Linked DNA regions of Homo sapiens: all the other regions are linked to region 1. Evidence: promoter capture Hi-C in 16 types of primary human blood cells and fetal thymus (Javierre and others, 2016). All regions are on one chromosome and are shown on one strand. Each heading gives the region's core, a stretch centred on a gene start or on the middle of the fragment in contact. The rest is flanking DNA. Distances are from core to core; before and after follow the strand shown. Region 1 holds the start of FIP1L1 (factor interacting with PAPOLA and CPSF1). Region 2 overlaps CEP135 (centrosomal protein 135). Region 3 overlaps EXOC1 (exocyst complex component 1). Region 4 has its middle 5.0 kb from the start of EXOC1. Region 5 overlaps CLOCK (clock circadian regulator).

Region 1 (2,796 bases), core at 203-2,702:
GAGACTGCAGTGAACAGTGACCCTGCCACTGCATTTCAGCCTGGGTTACAGAGTAAGACTGTTTTTTAAACAAAACAAAACAAAACAAAACAAAACAAAACAAAACAAAAAAACAGGCCGGGCGTGGTGGCTCATGCCTGTAAGCCCAGCACTTTGGGACACCAAGGTGGGCAGATCACCTGAGGTCAGGAGTTCAAAACCAGCCTGGCCAAAATGGTGAAACCCCCTCTCTACTATAAATACAAAAATTGGCTGGGCATGGTGGTGCGTGCCTGTAATCCCAGCTACTTGGGAGGCTGAGGCAGAAGAATCGCTTGAGCCCAGGAGGTGGAGGTTGCAGTGAGCAGAGATCGCACCACTGTACTCCAGCTGGGCAACAGAGTGAGACTCCGCCTCAAATAAATAAACAAACAAACAAAAAACCTAGACAAACCTAGAGCTCCAGTTTGAACCATGGTATGTCATCTTTTCACTGGAAGATGTGCTTTCAGAAGCGGCCTGAACATTTGGTTTACCTATTAAAATAAAAACTGTACATACTTTATGATCTATCTTTGAGAAACAGACAAATCTGCAAGGAGCCGTGTGGATCTTCATTGTCATTTTTTGTTGTAGTTAAAAGTGTAAAGTCAAAAGCAATCTGGGTGTACATCAATGGAGAAATAGCCATATTCACTCTGTGATAGCCATACTATGCAATTTTATGAAGCACTTAAAATAGATATAGTTTGATTCATACTAAAATGAAAAAGAGCTCCAAGACACGGATGCTAAAAAAAAAGAAAAAAAAGGAAGTCGAAGGATGATACTATACTGTACTGTACTATTTAAGACTTGTCAATCTCAGGTTCTCCCACCAAAACAGCACAACACATGAAGTAAGTGTATAGGAAATTTCGGAATGATGAACTCCAAACAGGATATGCATCTGTAGCAAGGGCTACCTCCGGAGAGAAGGGTAGGGGAATGAGGCGGTCTTTGACCTTGACAGTAATTTATGGTTTTTAACAAGGAGAGTGCATTCTTCATCTATTAGTTTTGCTTTTGTTGGCTGTGAAAATTAATTTTTTGAGAAATAGTACTGATTGTGATTTCTTCTCTATTCAGTGAGGAAAGGGAGTGACAGGTAATGATTCTGTATCAAGGCTGATTAAAGAATAAAAGAAGGCCTTTCTGAAGATTAAAAAACAAATAAAAAGTTGAGAAGAAAGAGCACGAAGAGTAGAAGGGAACAATGGTGTACTCGCCAGCAATGGCAATACGGGTTATTAAAAAGAAGGGTGGGGGCGGGGAACCCTGGCCGACTCAGGACGCCACGGGAGGAAGCCACGCAAAATAGCAAACCGGGATCCTAGAGGGGCGGGGCCCACCTCAGCGCGCAGGCGCAACCAGGCCCAGGTGGCCGCCGCGGAAGCGAAGCCACCTATACGCGCCGCGCCGCTTGGGTCTCCTGCGCATGCGCAGACGGACCTGCGCTGGAGGCTTCATCTTTGCCGCCGCTGCCGTCGCCTTCCTGGGATTGGAGTCTCGAGCTTTCTTCGTTCGTTCGTCGGCGGGTTCGCGCCCTTCTCGCGCCTCGGGGCTGCGAGGCTGGGGAAGGGGTTGGAGGGGGCTGTTGATCGCCGCGTTTAAGTTGCGCTCGGGGCGGCCATGTCGGCCGGCGAGGTCGAGCGCCTAGTGTCGGAGCTGAGCGGCGGGACCGGAGGGGATGAGGAGGAAGAGTGGCTCTATGGCGGTACGAAACTTCCTGTCTCTGTCTCTCGGGTTCTCTCAGGCCTCCCCTCTTGGCCCTCAAACGGCCGGCGTCCCTGGCCTCTCGCGCCGCCGCTTCGGGCCTCTGGTTGGGAGTCCTGTCCGGCCTGACTTAGGCCGAGCGCGGCGTGCGCGTGCCCCCAGTCCCCGCGGCGGTCTCCCGCCTGGCCCACGCCCACCATGCGCATCCACCCCTGTGGCGGCCGGGCCGGGCTGGGGGGCTGTGACCGGTCCTGGCCCCCGGCTTCGCTGTGCTTTCCCCGAGGCGTCTCGATCGCCTAGCTGCTGCGCTCTTTACCCTTGTTTTTTTCTGTCGATTCTGAGGTGGTGGTTTTTGGTGTCTGTTTTTGCCCTGTGGCCTTAGGGTGCCCTTCCTGTCCCTTCTTTCAGAAACAGTCATTCTGTAATAATAGCTAAATAAAGTTAATGCTGTACAACTAACGTCTTGTTTCTTGATGGTCAGTTTGTATGGAATGCACCTGCAAGGGTACCTCCTTGTCTGAAAGTCGTGCTTTAAAAATAATTAATTAAGAGAGAGAGAGAGAAAGATGGCCCATAAAGAAAACTCTGAATGTCTCCTGTATTAAGGTGAAGTTATTCTTTTTTAAGAGACTACCGTTTAACCTACATCATGGAGGTATCTCATGACCCTTCGGCTTATAGTTTTCAGTGTCATCTCATGTATTTGTTTTTCTCAAAATAAATTTAATGCATCATGTACTTCTCTCTAGAAGGGTACTTGTTTGACATCTGGTTTTTAACTTTAAGTCACAATCCCTTCTTGCTTGTTAACACCAGATTTGAAAGTTAATGTTTGTTCCTTGCCTAAAACATATATTCTTGATTGTCTTTAGAATAGAATAGTAAAAGTGCACTTTGGGCACCATGCAGGTCCTTGATGATGTGACTTTGATAAACTTGTAAAAAAAAATCGTTTGGTGGCAAGATTTAGCATTAGTTACTACTCTTTGAAATGTGAATGTGTAGGATTTCTTTTACAAAGATCTGGAAATCTTCATTACCTCTTAAATTTAAGCTTATTTT
Region 2 (2,796 bases), core at 84-2,583, 2.6 Mb after region 1:
GAAATTTACATGATGAAATGCATAGAGTTTAAGTGTACTATTTGAAAAGTAAATTCTCTAAATGTATACACTTGTGTAACCACTACCCCAATCAATGTAATATTTTCATTACCCTAAAAAGTTGTGTCTTAACTCTTAACGGGCAATCTGCAGCCCGCCTCACCTCCCCAGACAACTCTTGTTTTAATTTCTGGCCCCATAGTTTTAATTTTACTTGTTCATCAACTTCATGTAAATGGAGTCATACAGTATTTGTCTGGTTTCTTTTGCTCAAATAATGTTTTTGAGATTCATCCATGCTGTTGATGTGTATCAGTAGTTCCTTTTATCCCTTAGTATTGCACTGTATAAATATATCATACTTTACCCCTTCTGCTGTTGATGGGGGTTTAGGTTGTTTCCAGTTTGGGGCTACTATGAGTAAAGCTGTGAACATTCTTGTAGAGTATTTTTGTGAATATTTTTTATTTCTATAAATACCTGGGAATAAAATCACAGGGTTATAGTCCAGAAGTATGTTTAACTTTATAAAAAAACTGCCAGACTTTTTCCAAAGTGATTTTACATTCCTGTCAGCAATGTGTGAAGATTCCAGTTGCTCCAGATCTTTGTCGACATTTGCTATTGTCGGTCCTTGTAATTTTAGTCATTCTAGTTTGGGAGAAAATGTACCTTGTTGTTTTAATTTGTATTTCCATGTTGACTACTGTTGAGCACCATTTCATATCATCATTCCCATTCAGACACCTATGCGAGGTGTCTGTTCGAATCTTTAGCGCAACTAAATTACAGTTTTAGCCCAAATTAATGTTCTTATTGGGATGTTTGTCTTATTATTGAGTTGTAAGAATTCCTTTTATATTCCCTATACAAATCCTTTGTCAGATATTGTGAATATTTTCTCCCACTCTTTGGTTTGCCTTCTCTATTTTAATTGAGTATTTTGATGAGCAGACATTTTAAATTTTGATGAAGTCCAATTTATCAAATTTATCTTTTATGTTTAGTGCTTTTAAAAGAGGCCTCTCTGAGAAGTCTCTGCCTACTTCAGGCTTAGGAAAAATCTTTGTTTTCTCCTAGAAGCTTTAGGATTTTAACTTTTACATTTAGTTGTATGAGGAAGTATTTATTTTAATGCAGTAACAGGAATATCATAAGCATTGGCTTTAAATCTGAATTTTCCAGAAGGCTACCTACCTGAAGAAAAACAAAAAATAATTGCTTCATATTAAAATAATTTTTTCTTCTTATTGTGAAACAACAATCATAGCTATAATAAGATAATGATGTTTCATTCTTTTCTCTCAGGACTTTAATTTTTGGAAGTGAATAAAACTTGTTTTAGAAGACGAGATGACTACAGCTGTAGAGAGAAAGTATATTAATATTAGGAAAAGGCTGGATCAGCTGGGATACCGCCAGACTCTGACAGTGGAGTGTTTACCTTTGGTAGAAAAACTTTTCAGGTAAAGACAAAAATACAGTTTTCAACCTTTATGATCCCTAACCACTTACCTCATTTCTGATTGAACTTCATGCTTTGGTAAAGAAAAGGGTAGCTTTCCGGAAAGGCTTTCAATCATGAAGCTTATCTGTTTTTTCCCTGTCCTCAATCCAGGCCTTCCACACGGCAGAACTCTAAAGGCCACCACTCACGCTGTACTGTTCAAAGTCAACATTTCTGGGGGTTTTCTCTGTGAATGGAATTACAGTTTTTTGGGTTTCTGATATAATTGAGAGACACTTTTCCCTTAAGTTCTTTTTTTTTCCCCCCCTTAAGTTCTATGTCTGCTTCACTGGTCTTCAAATACAGTCATGGATAGTTTCATGACAGGGATACGTTCTGAGAAACATGTCATCATTAGGTGATTTTTTCGTTGTACCAACATCATAGGGTGTGCTTACACAAACCTAGATGGTGTCGCCTACCACAAACCTAGGCTATATGGTCTGTATCCTATGGCTCCTAGGCTACAAACCTGTATAGCATGTTACTATACTGAATACTGTAGGTAATTGTTAACACAGTGGTGCCTATTTGTATATCTGAACATATCTAAACATAGAAAAGGTATTGTGTTGTGCTACAGTGTTACAATGGCCAGATCTCATGAGGCAATAGGAATTTTTCAGCTGCCCCCATTATAAATCTTACAGGACTACTCTCCTTCCTATATGTGGTCTGTCGTTGACCAAAATGTCATCATGTGGTGCATGACTGTATTTTAAGCCTCTTTAGAAATATGTTTTTAGTTATTAGAAAGTTAATGAAATATTTCCTGGTATTTAAATTTTCTGTTCTTTTAGCGACTTAGTTCATACAACTGAGAGCCTTCGGCAATCAAAATTATCTGCTGTGAAAGCTGAAAAAGAAAGTGCCAATTTTGATTTTGTTTTGGAACCCTATAAACTTGAAAATGCAAGATTGAGTAGAGAAAATAATGAATTATACCTAGAGTTAATGAAACTGAGAGAACATTCAGACCAACACGTTAAAGGTAAGTGAAAATTTGATAATTTTTAAAATGCAATGTCTTTGTCCTTTTTATTTTAGAAGGAAAAGCTAACGTCTAATTTTAAAACTATTGATTAGAAAATATAGTAGTCCTACAGCTGGATGGTGTGTGCCTATAGTCCCAGCTACTCGGGAGTTTAAGGTGGGAGGATTGCTTGAGCCCAGGAGTTTGAGACCAGCCTAGGCAACATAGTGAGAACTTGTTTCAAAAAAAAAGAAAAGAAAAGAAAATATGGTACTCCTTCTGCTAATAGCCCCTGAAATACTATAGGGTATGTTGA
Region 3 (2,796 bases), core at 202-2,701, 2.5 Mb after region 1:
TTGTTAGATATTCGTCTAGTCTTTTTCCTATGCATAAACACCTTTTTAAGATAAAGAAATTTACATTATGTTTTCTAACATACTTTTTCATATAATGTATCATGAACATTTTTCATGTTGTTGAATACTTACCCCAACATTATTTTCAGTAGCACCATAGTATTCCATTATATGGATATACCATGTTTATTTAACTAATCATTTATTTTTTAATTTTCCAATCTTTGCTTCTTTTAAACAGCTCTGGGATAAATACCCTTGTAGCAGTATTTTTGTACAGAGGGTAGATGTAGTGGTTAAGAACATAGCTCTGAAGTCAGACTTCTTGGGTTCAAATCCTGGCTTTGCCACTAACTAGCTATATGACTTTGCATTGATACTTACTCTCTATGTTTCAGTTTCCCTTATCTCAGAACTAGAGATAATAATAGTATCTACCTCATAGGGTTGTTATGAGGATTAAATTACTTAATATATGAACATAGTAAGAACAGTGCCAGGTACATAGTAAGTGCTCAGTAAATATTAGCTATTATTATGTTACCAGTATAAAATCCTTAGACATGAAGATTATTAGAATATTTTTGATCAGTATATCTTCAGGAATGTTACTATGCATCATTTTGTGTTACAAGACAAAAACTCTACCATTAATTAGTGAAAATATGAGATTTTCTCTACTTTTAAAATTTCTTTCCTAAAGATACAAACATTGTAAGATAGCACTTAGTAATCAGTGAGCCTGCTGCTGATTTTAGGCTTGATGCTTGGCACTGGCAGAAACAAGTCACATATGTCAGCCACCAGTAGTGCTGGTCTTATGTAGGAATCCCCAGGGTTGCCATCTCACCAACACTAGTCCCCAACATCTTGGTAATTGAGTGTGTAGAGGGAATGACCTTCAAGAAATTTATGGTAACTTTTCATGCCTTGAATCGTGGTTTAATTTGCTTCGAATGGCTTTTATTTTTTTTAACATTTCAGGGTTGAACATTCTGATGAGTCAGTGATTCAGTGATTCACAAGCTTGCTGTTCTGTCTTCAAATATTATGCATTTCCAGATGTTATTTATTGTGTAAGGTGATTTTAAACCAGTATATTTCAGGACAGTCATATAGAAAAATACATACCCTACCTGGATCTGCCTCATTAAGAAATACTACCAAAATCAGTGAGAAGAGTATTACTGTTTTTGAAAATGAAGTGTCTAACTTAAAAAAAAAAAGGCATTCAATTTTTCAGGCCATAAAACAAGAGTATAGACACGTTCATGTGTATAAACATTAACCCTAACTGAGATCGATTTTAAGAATACTGAGAAGATCCTTAAGGATCTCATTTTGAAAATCACTTGCTATATACGTCAGTAACTCTTGCTTTGGTTTAGTGGAGTTCAGGGAATAGCTTCATTAATGTCTACAAACTTGTTTTATGGACCTTGAAATTACAGCCTTTAATTCCCATTAAAAAAAAATGTCTCTAAGTTTTGAGTGATGTTAGAAAACAAATAAAAAATTATTACCACCCCAGTTTAAGAGCTCAATAATTAAGTAAGACTATTTTGATTATAAATGGTAGCAGTGGCAACTTGGTAGTTTTTATTGTTGACAATTGAATACGTAAGTTAAATAATGGGGCTCCTCAGCAGAATAAGGTTTGTAAAAGAGGACTTTTCAGCAGTTGAAGTAGATTGAAGTTTTTATTTGGCCTTTTTTTTCATTCTTTTACTTGCAACCAGCTTTTTAAAAAAGAATCTTTGACTTGAATCCTTAAATGCTGGCTTGAACTGTTATTTTGTGTAATTTTTTACTTGCCTCAATCTTGTCCTTTCTAACCATGTTTTGTGACTAATCCTCTGTGAGGGAGTGTCTGGGTAAAGCTTTTGGGCCTTAAGTAACATAACTAGGCTACATGCATGAGTCACAACTGACCTAAATATAATCCCCAGGAAATGATTAGTTTGCCAGGTTTCTCCTCTAAGGGTTAGTTAGTGCTGTTTCTTAAAAGACTAAGAGAAATTAGAAAGATAAATATATTTGTAGTCACTATCAGAAAGTGAATAAGAAAAATGAACACGGCAAATTTAGCTTCTTATGGATCTTTCCACTTGGTAGTTGATTTGGCTGTCTTTTGAACTTTAACATGAAGTTCAAATGAGATATGGGTAGTATTTTAAAAATTTAAGCCTGTTTACTTTTCTACCCAGCTAATATTCTTTGCTTACTTTCCTCTGCTTTTTTCATACTTTTTACTCTCCAGAACTGCCTAAAGTTACAGAAGGTGCGTAACACCTTTTCTTCTTCTATTCCATATGTTTTTATTAGTTGCCTTTGTTATATACCGTTGGTTGTATGTTTTATGAAATGATGTACTGGGACAAATTTATTTTAAAAATCTACATAGTAATAAAATTAATGATAGTATTTATTATTGGCTTTCAAGGACATATCATTAGAAAATACTTCTGAAGCAGTTAATTATAATCATGTAAAATATTTGTTTAAGTCTACTTGTGTAAGGACCTGTACAGAATGATTTGGGCAGTCCCTGCCCCCTAGTGGCTAATAAGCTGTCACACATGACAGTTGAACTTTTTCGCAGTGAATTAAATGGACTCGTTGAAAGGACAAGGAGATCGGTAATATCTCTCTAAAGAACTTATATACTAAAATCTGTAATTGCCTGTACCAAAAGTTTTAGTCTTCTTTTTGTTCTGGGACAAATGAACGTATTTCAGGTCATGCTGAATGTAAATATTCATTTTCCTATAAAATAATGAATACTAAAAGCATCCA
Region 4 (2,796 bases), core at 217-2,716, 2.5 Mb after region 1:
GCAATCATTAAAAAGTCAGGAAACAACAGGTGCTGGAGAGGATGTGGAGAAATAGGAACACTTTTACACTGTTGGTGGGACTGTAAACTAGTTCAACCATTGTGGAAGTCAGTGTGGCGATTCCTCAGGGATCTAGAACTAGAAATACCATTTGACCCAGCCATCCCATTACTGGGTATATACCCAAAGGACTATAAATCATGCTGCTATAAAGACACATGCACACGTATGTTTATTGCGGCACTATTCCCAATAGCAAAGACTTGGAACCAACCCAAATGTCCAACAATGATAGACTGGATTAAGAAAATGTGGCACATATACACCATGGAATACTATGCAGCCATACAAAATGATGAGTTCATGTCCTTTGTAGGGACATGGATGAAATTGGAAATCATCATTCTGAGTAAACTATCTCAAGGACAAAAAACCAAACACCGCATGTTCTCACTCATAGATGGGAATTGAACAATGAGAACACATGGACACAGGAAGGGGAACATCACACTCTGGGGACTGTTGTGGGGTGGGGGGAGGGGGGAGGGAGAGCATTAGGAGATATACCTAAAGTTAAATGACTAGTTAGTGGGTGCAGCACACCAGCATGGCACATGTATACATATGTAACTAACCTGCACAATGTGCACATGTACCCTAAAACTTAAAGTATAATAATAATAAAAAATAAAAAAATTAAAAAAAAAGAGATGATTTCTGCACTTCTGAGAGAATCTCCTAGAATGTGTATACGGAGTTCAGCACTGTGCATTTGTAATGACTGCCCTTTATTGTAATATCACTCTACAATATGTATATTAAATAAGGCAGCTGCATAAGAAAAGCATTGAGACGCAATGTGATTCTGCAAGCCAATCTTTGCCTTCCTTATATTTATTTGTATGTCACATTATATTACTTTCCAATAATGATGTCAAATGTGCATCTACTATCTAACTAATATTTATTTATAATATTTACTTAATTAATATTGATACAGGTAATTACCATCCTTATTTAGTGACTCCCTGACTTCCTCCCATAAAGCTACAAAGAAATGGAAAGTATCACGTGGGGATATTTACATCTATTTCTAACAAAACCTAAAACAAACACCAATTGCTTTATGTATTTAACAGTAGAGACATTTCTTCCTTGCTGCAGTTGTTAAAGATATTTAGAAAATAAAGAATCTGGGCCTAGGTGGGCAGATCACTTGAGCCCAGGAGTTTGAGACCAGCCTGGGCAACATGGCAAAACCCCATCTCTACTAAACCCCATCTCTACTAAAAATACAAAAGATCACCCAGGCATGGTGGCATGTGCTTGTAGTCCCAGCTACTTAGGAGGTTGAGGCAGAAGAATCGCTTGAACCTGGGAGGCAGAGGTTGCAGTGAGCTAACGCCATTGCACTCCAGCCTGGGTGACAGAGCAAGACTGTCTCCAGAAAAAACAGAACGAAAAAGAAAATAAAGAATCTGGGAAGTGCAGCATTGTAACTCTCATTGTCCACCCCCCACCCCCACAAAGAGTTACTTGGTGTTCTTTGTGTTGATACTAATAGTCTTACATCTCTGAAAAAAAGTTCTTCCTTTCTTAGACAGGAACATGCATCATTAAATTATAAGAAAACAATGCTAAGAAATAGGGAAGAGAAAAATCAAAGTAAGTGTCATAATAAATGTCAAATGTTTAAAATGTCACATTTCAAATTGAAATTATATAAATCTACATGATTTTAAACATTTGAACATTTTAAACATTTGAAGATCCCTTAGCTTTATACCCAAATTAAAATTAATCAGACTGATATCAAAAGACAGTTTGGATGCCAGTAAAAGAGGCATCCAAATATGAAATATGAAAGTCCACTTCCATGAAATCTATGAGTTTTCTCACTAAACAATGTCCTCAAAGCCAGTGGAGCTACCACCGATGTCATCAGAGACAGCCCTAGAGGGAGTGGGGCACTTTTGCCCTTCCTCCTTCAGGGGTTCAAGCTGAGGAAAAGGATGGTCTCCCTCCCCCTTCAAAAGGTGCAAAATGGATTCAGGTCTTGAGAAGAACATGAAGTCTTTACAATCTTCAGGCCTCTGCTTTACTGGTGCACAGTAACAAGAGCGATTTCTCTGAGGAAACAATTAACTTCTATAAATCATCAATATTTACTACTCTTCACCATTTAGAAGAGACTTTTCCCTTGGAGCTTACTAACAATGGAAAAGTTATTTCATGCTATGTAAGTATGAGATTCCCTCATATGTGATACATGTTAATATATACAGCCTTCTTTCTATGTAAAGGAAGCGGGACCTCAGAACCTCCTTGGGCAGAACCTCCTTGGGTGACTATTACATGTTTTTCAAGTAGGTAAATCTGCCCAATTTAATCTACTAAACCAATCTGCATGTAATAACAGCTACCATTTATTGAATGCTTATACTGTGTGCCAAGCAATGAGACAAGTGCTTTACAAGAAACATCTTAGCAAATATGCCCAAGATGGGATTACTATTTTTTATATACAGATGAGAAAATTGAGGCTCTGAAGAGTTAAGTAACTTGCCCTGTGGTCACTGACTCAGTAAAGGGTAAAGACCAGATTTGAACCCCTGGTCTGTGTGATTCCGAAACAGGAAAATTCCCTTATCCCCATCGCAGGGCATGCGATGGGGGTGTCACTCACTTCTTCAGTGCCCCACTGCTCAAACCTCTAGGGGGAGCATGCAGAAGGGCAGGTTGTGGGGCTCGGACTCCACGGCAGCGTATAGGGGTGAACGTTTACAGCTCCTGAAG
Region 5 (2,796 bases), core at 78-2,577, 2.2 Mb after region 1:
CTGCAAGCAAGTACAGAAGGAAAAAAAATCAAAGTTTAACCCATACACTATCGATCAAGTCAAAAGCCAAAGAAAACCCTAAAACTTGGACTCTAAAGAGTCCTATAAAATTCATGGAATCCAAGCACCTTTTGGGTTTGTTTTGTTTAAAACAGGGTGTCACTCTGTCACCAAGGCTGAACTCCTGGGTTCAAGTGATCCCTCCACCTCAGCCTCCCAATTAGCTGAAACTACGGTGTGCACCACCCCATCTGGCTAATTTTTTTTAAAAAAATTTTGTAGCAAAGAGGTCTCACTATGTTGCCCAGGCTGGTCCTGAAATCCTGGGCTCAAGCCATTCTCCCACCTCGGCCGCTCGAAGTTTACAGTGAATTAAATCTATACCAGATAAAACTCACATCAGTATGACCTCCCTTCAAACTCTGCAAATGCCTCCATAACAATTGGCCCCTCACTAGTGAAAAGATGAGTATGACCTATGGTCTATATCAGATGTTAAGCTTTCTGACAGGCTCCAAGTCATGTCCCTGTCCTGTAGGTAATAACAGAGCCCATACTGGAGGCAAAATGGCAAAGCAGATGATCATTCAAGATGATTCCGTTTTCAAGGCTGAAAAGAACATATTTGCAAATGCACAGAAAAAGATCTACAAGATCATACAGTGGTGTTAACAGTGTTACCCTTCAGTCAAGGGTATACGAGTAGCTGTGCTCCCTAGATTCCTCTGGGGAGGAATGTGAGCTAGAAGTGGATGTAAAGGGGTTGTCACTTATTATATATACACTGTATTAACTTTTTATGAGCATCAATTTACTTCTGTAATTTTAAAAATAAGAGTCCCAGCTACTCGGGAGGCTGAGGCAGGAGAATCTCTTGAACCTGGGAGCCGGAGGTTGCAGTGAGCCAAGATCGTGCCACTGCACTCCGGCCTGGTGACAGAGCAAGACTCCGTCTCCAAAAAAAAAAAAAATTGAAATGTAATTCCATTTTTAAAAAAGATTGAACGGACCCACATGGAATTCAAATGAAAAATAAGTGACACTTTGCAGAAGTCTATTAGAAAAACCTACATATCAAACAGAAATAATATAAGTATCCTATCCTACAAAATAAAAAGGAATACTGGTAATATTACAAAAATGCCCACAGCAACTGCAATCCATTACTCACTATTCACTACTTTCATTACACAATATTAGTCACCAGGGGGAGTTTGAGGGTCCCCTCCCAAAATTATATCTCATCTAACAGCTGCCTGTGCAGTCTTAACCTCATTAAACAGGTTTTCAACAATCCAGTCCTAAAAAAATGTTCATTTTGTACACTTTCATGAGAAACAACCAGACACACACACACACACACACACACACACACACACCCCAATTTACCTTTCACTGGGGTTCATGTTTGATTTCCTCAAAAGAAAGAAAAGTTTCCCAACCTGAAAAGCAAACTAACCTAGACAATCAAGTTTACTAGCACTTTAAGGGAATGTTCACATCCTCCTCATAATTGTTTGTCATGAAACTTTGGGGTTAAGTAAAATTTTACCCATCTATGACTCCTGAAAAAAAGAGGAGGGGGAAACACAAACTACACTCTGAAAGCAGCATAATCCAGCCATAATGCCAAATGTAAACAGTCATATATTTTAGCAAGGCAAGATATAACTAAACATCTTTAAAAGATAAATGCCTGTGACCTCTGCAATCTTAAAAATTAAAGTGTAAATAGTCATAAAAGGTATCCCAAACTTCCTTTTTAGTTGATTTTCCTAAAAAATATGAAAAGCAATCATATTGAAAATGACTCAAATCACCATAAATTAGGCAACAAAAATCACACAAATTATTTGGGGGAGGAGGATTTTTGTTTAATCCAGTTTATGAGTCCATAATACACACAAAAATTTGAAAACATGAAGACATACACATAATACATCTCATTTCCCACCATTCCCTCAGACTATTTCTCCCTCTCCTCTATTGTTAGTTTTCTAAATCCTCCCATAATTTCTTTATATAAAGAGCAAACATAAACTTGTATTATTACACCTCGCCCTTAAGATGTAACACACTATTCACAAAGTACCGCTACACCTTGCTTTTTTCACTTCATAGCAAATTTTTGCAATCTTTGCATGTTAGTACGTAGAAAGCTTCCTTATTCTTTTTTCATAACTGATTACGCCTAGCTTTAGAACATTTTCAGTCTGCTTTCTTCAGGCTAACTTTTTTTTTTTTTACTTTTTTTATTATTATACTTTAAGTTCTAGGGTACATGTGCACAACGTGCAGGTTTGTCACATATGTATAAATGTGCCACGCTGGTGTGCTGCACCCATTAACTCGTCGTTTACATTAGGTATTTCTCCTAATGCTACAGGCTAACCTTTCAAGACATTCTGTTCAGCCAACCACTTATCACAGGAATTAATTTCCTTCCCCCAAGCTTTGAAAACCAATCAGATTTGAGGTGTCCCAAGGGATAAGTTTCAGAGAAAGCAATTCATTATCTAAATTACATCCTTTTAAGAATGTTTATTTTCAAACAGGTAGAGGGGAATATTGCACAATTTTCTCTAATCGCTTAAAGCTACAAATCAGAACGCAATCTTCAAAGTGAAATTACCTTTGATTTGGGGGGATCAGCGTTATAGTCAAATCAACGACTGTAAAAGTTTACTTCTTGTGCTTTTCTTCCACTGTAAAAATTTTTTTATTTTTTAAAGAAGGCTAAAAAGCCTTAAAGTCTAATAGCACGGCATTCTAATAGCAGGAAACCACAATCTGATT

What was found. Contacts are between HindIII fragments. The CHiCAGO score rates a contact against its expected background, and 5 or more counts as called.
Region 2: a contact is called between a fragment that was not itself captured here and the fragment with the promoter of FIP1L1 in region 1, in 1 of 17 cell types (total CD8 T cells). The highest score is 5.8, in total CD8 T cells.
Region 3: a fragment that was not itself captured here is called in contact with the fragment with the promoter of FIP1L1 in region 1 in 1 of 17 cell types (total CD4 T cells); the score reaches 7.2 in total CD4 T cells.
Region 4: a contact is called between a fragment that was not itself captured here and the fragment with the promoter of FIP1L1 in region 1, in 2 of 17 cell types (non-activated CD4 T cells and activated CD4 T cells). The highest score is 6.3, in non-activated CD4 T cells.
Region 5: a contact is called between a fragment that was not itself captured here and the fragment with the promoter of FIP1L1 in region 1, in 1 of 17 cell types (total CD4 T cells). The highest score is 6.6, in total CD4 T cells.

Annotation. Positions count from the first base shown.
Region 1 is chr4:53,376,189-53,378,984 of GRCh38, forward strand. It overlaps FIP1L1 (factor interacting with PAPOLA and CPSF1), which reads left to right and starts at 1,453. Exons shown (of 18, transcript NM_030917.4): 1 at 1,453-1,735. The coding sequence starts at 1,651. It overlaps LOC105377654 (a long non-coding RNA gene), which reads right to left and starts at 1,552. Exons shown (of 3, transcript XR_007058118.1): 1 at 1,471-1,552. RefSeq lists enhancers at 1,171-1,719, 1,521-1,610, 1,661-1,780, 1,720-2,268 and a silencer at 1,941-2,030. The HindIII fragment of the contact is 4,469 bases long and covers 1-2,786 here.
Region 2 is chr4:55,950,778-55,953,573 of GRCh38, forward strand. It overlaps CEP135 (centrosomal protein 135), which reads left to right. Exons shown (of 26, transcript NM_025009.5): 2 at 1,309-1,466; 3 at 2,308-2,498. The coding sequence starts at 1,354. LOC124900705 (a long non-coding RNA gene) reads right to left here. Exons shown (of 3, transcript XR_007058124.1): 3 at 1,614-1,694. Among named protein-coding and RNA genes, the nearest start is that of CEP135, 3.2 kb to the left of the region's middle. The HindIII fragment of the contact is 504 bases long and covers 1,082-1,585 here.
Region 3 is chr4:55,864,612-55,867,407 of GRCh38, forward strand. The region is part of intron 4 of EXOC1 (exocyst complex component 1); the gene reads left to right. Among named protein-coding and RNA genes, the nearest start is that of EXOC1, 12 kb to the left of the region's middle. The HindIII fragment of the contact is 854 bases long and covers 1,025-1,878 here.
Region 4 is chr4:55,847,207-55,850,002 of GRCh38, forward strand. No RefSeq gene overlaps it. Among named protein-coding and RNA genes, the nearest start is that of EXOC1, 5.0 kb to the right of the region's middle. The HindIII fragment of the contact is 6,305 bases long and covers 1-2,796 here.
Region 5 is chr4:55,542,821-55,545,616 of GRCh38, forward strand. The region is part of intron 1 of CLOCK (clock circadian regulator); the gene reads right to left. Among named protein-coding and RNA genes, the nearest start is that of CLOCK, 2.7 kb to the right of the region's middle. The HindIII fragment of the contact is 1,659 bases long and covers 499-2,157 here.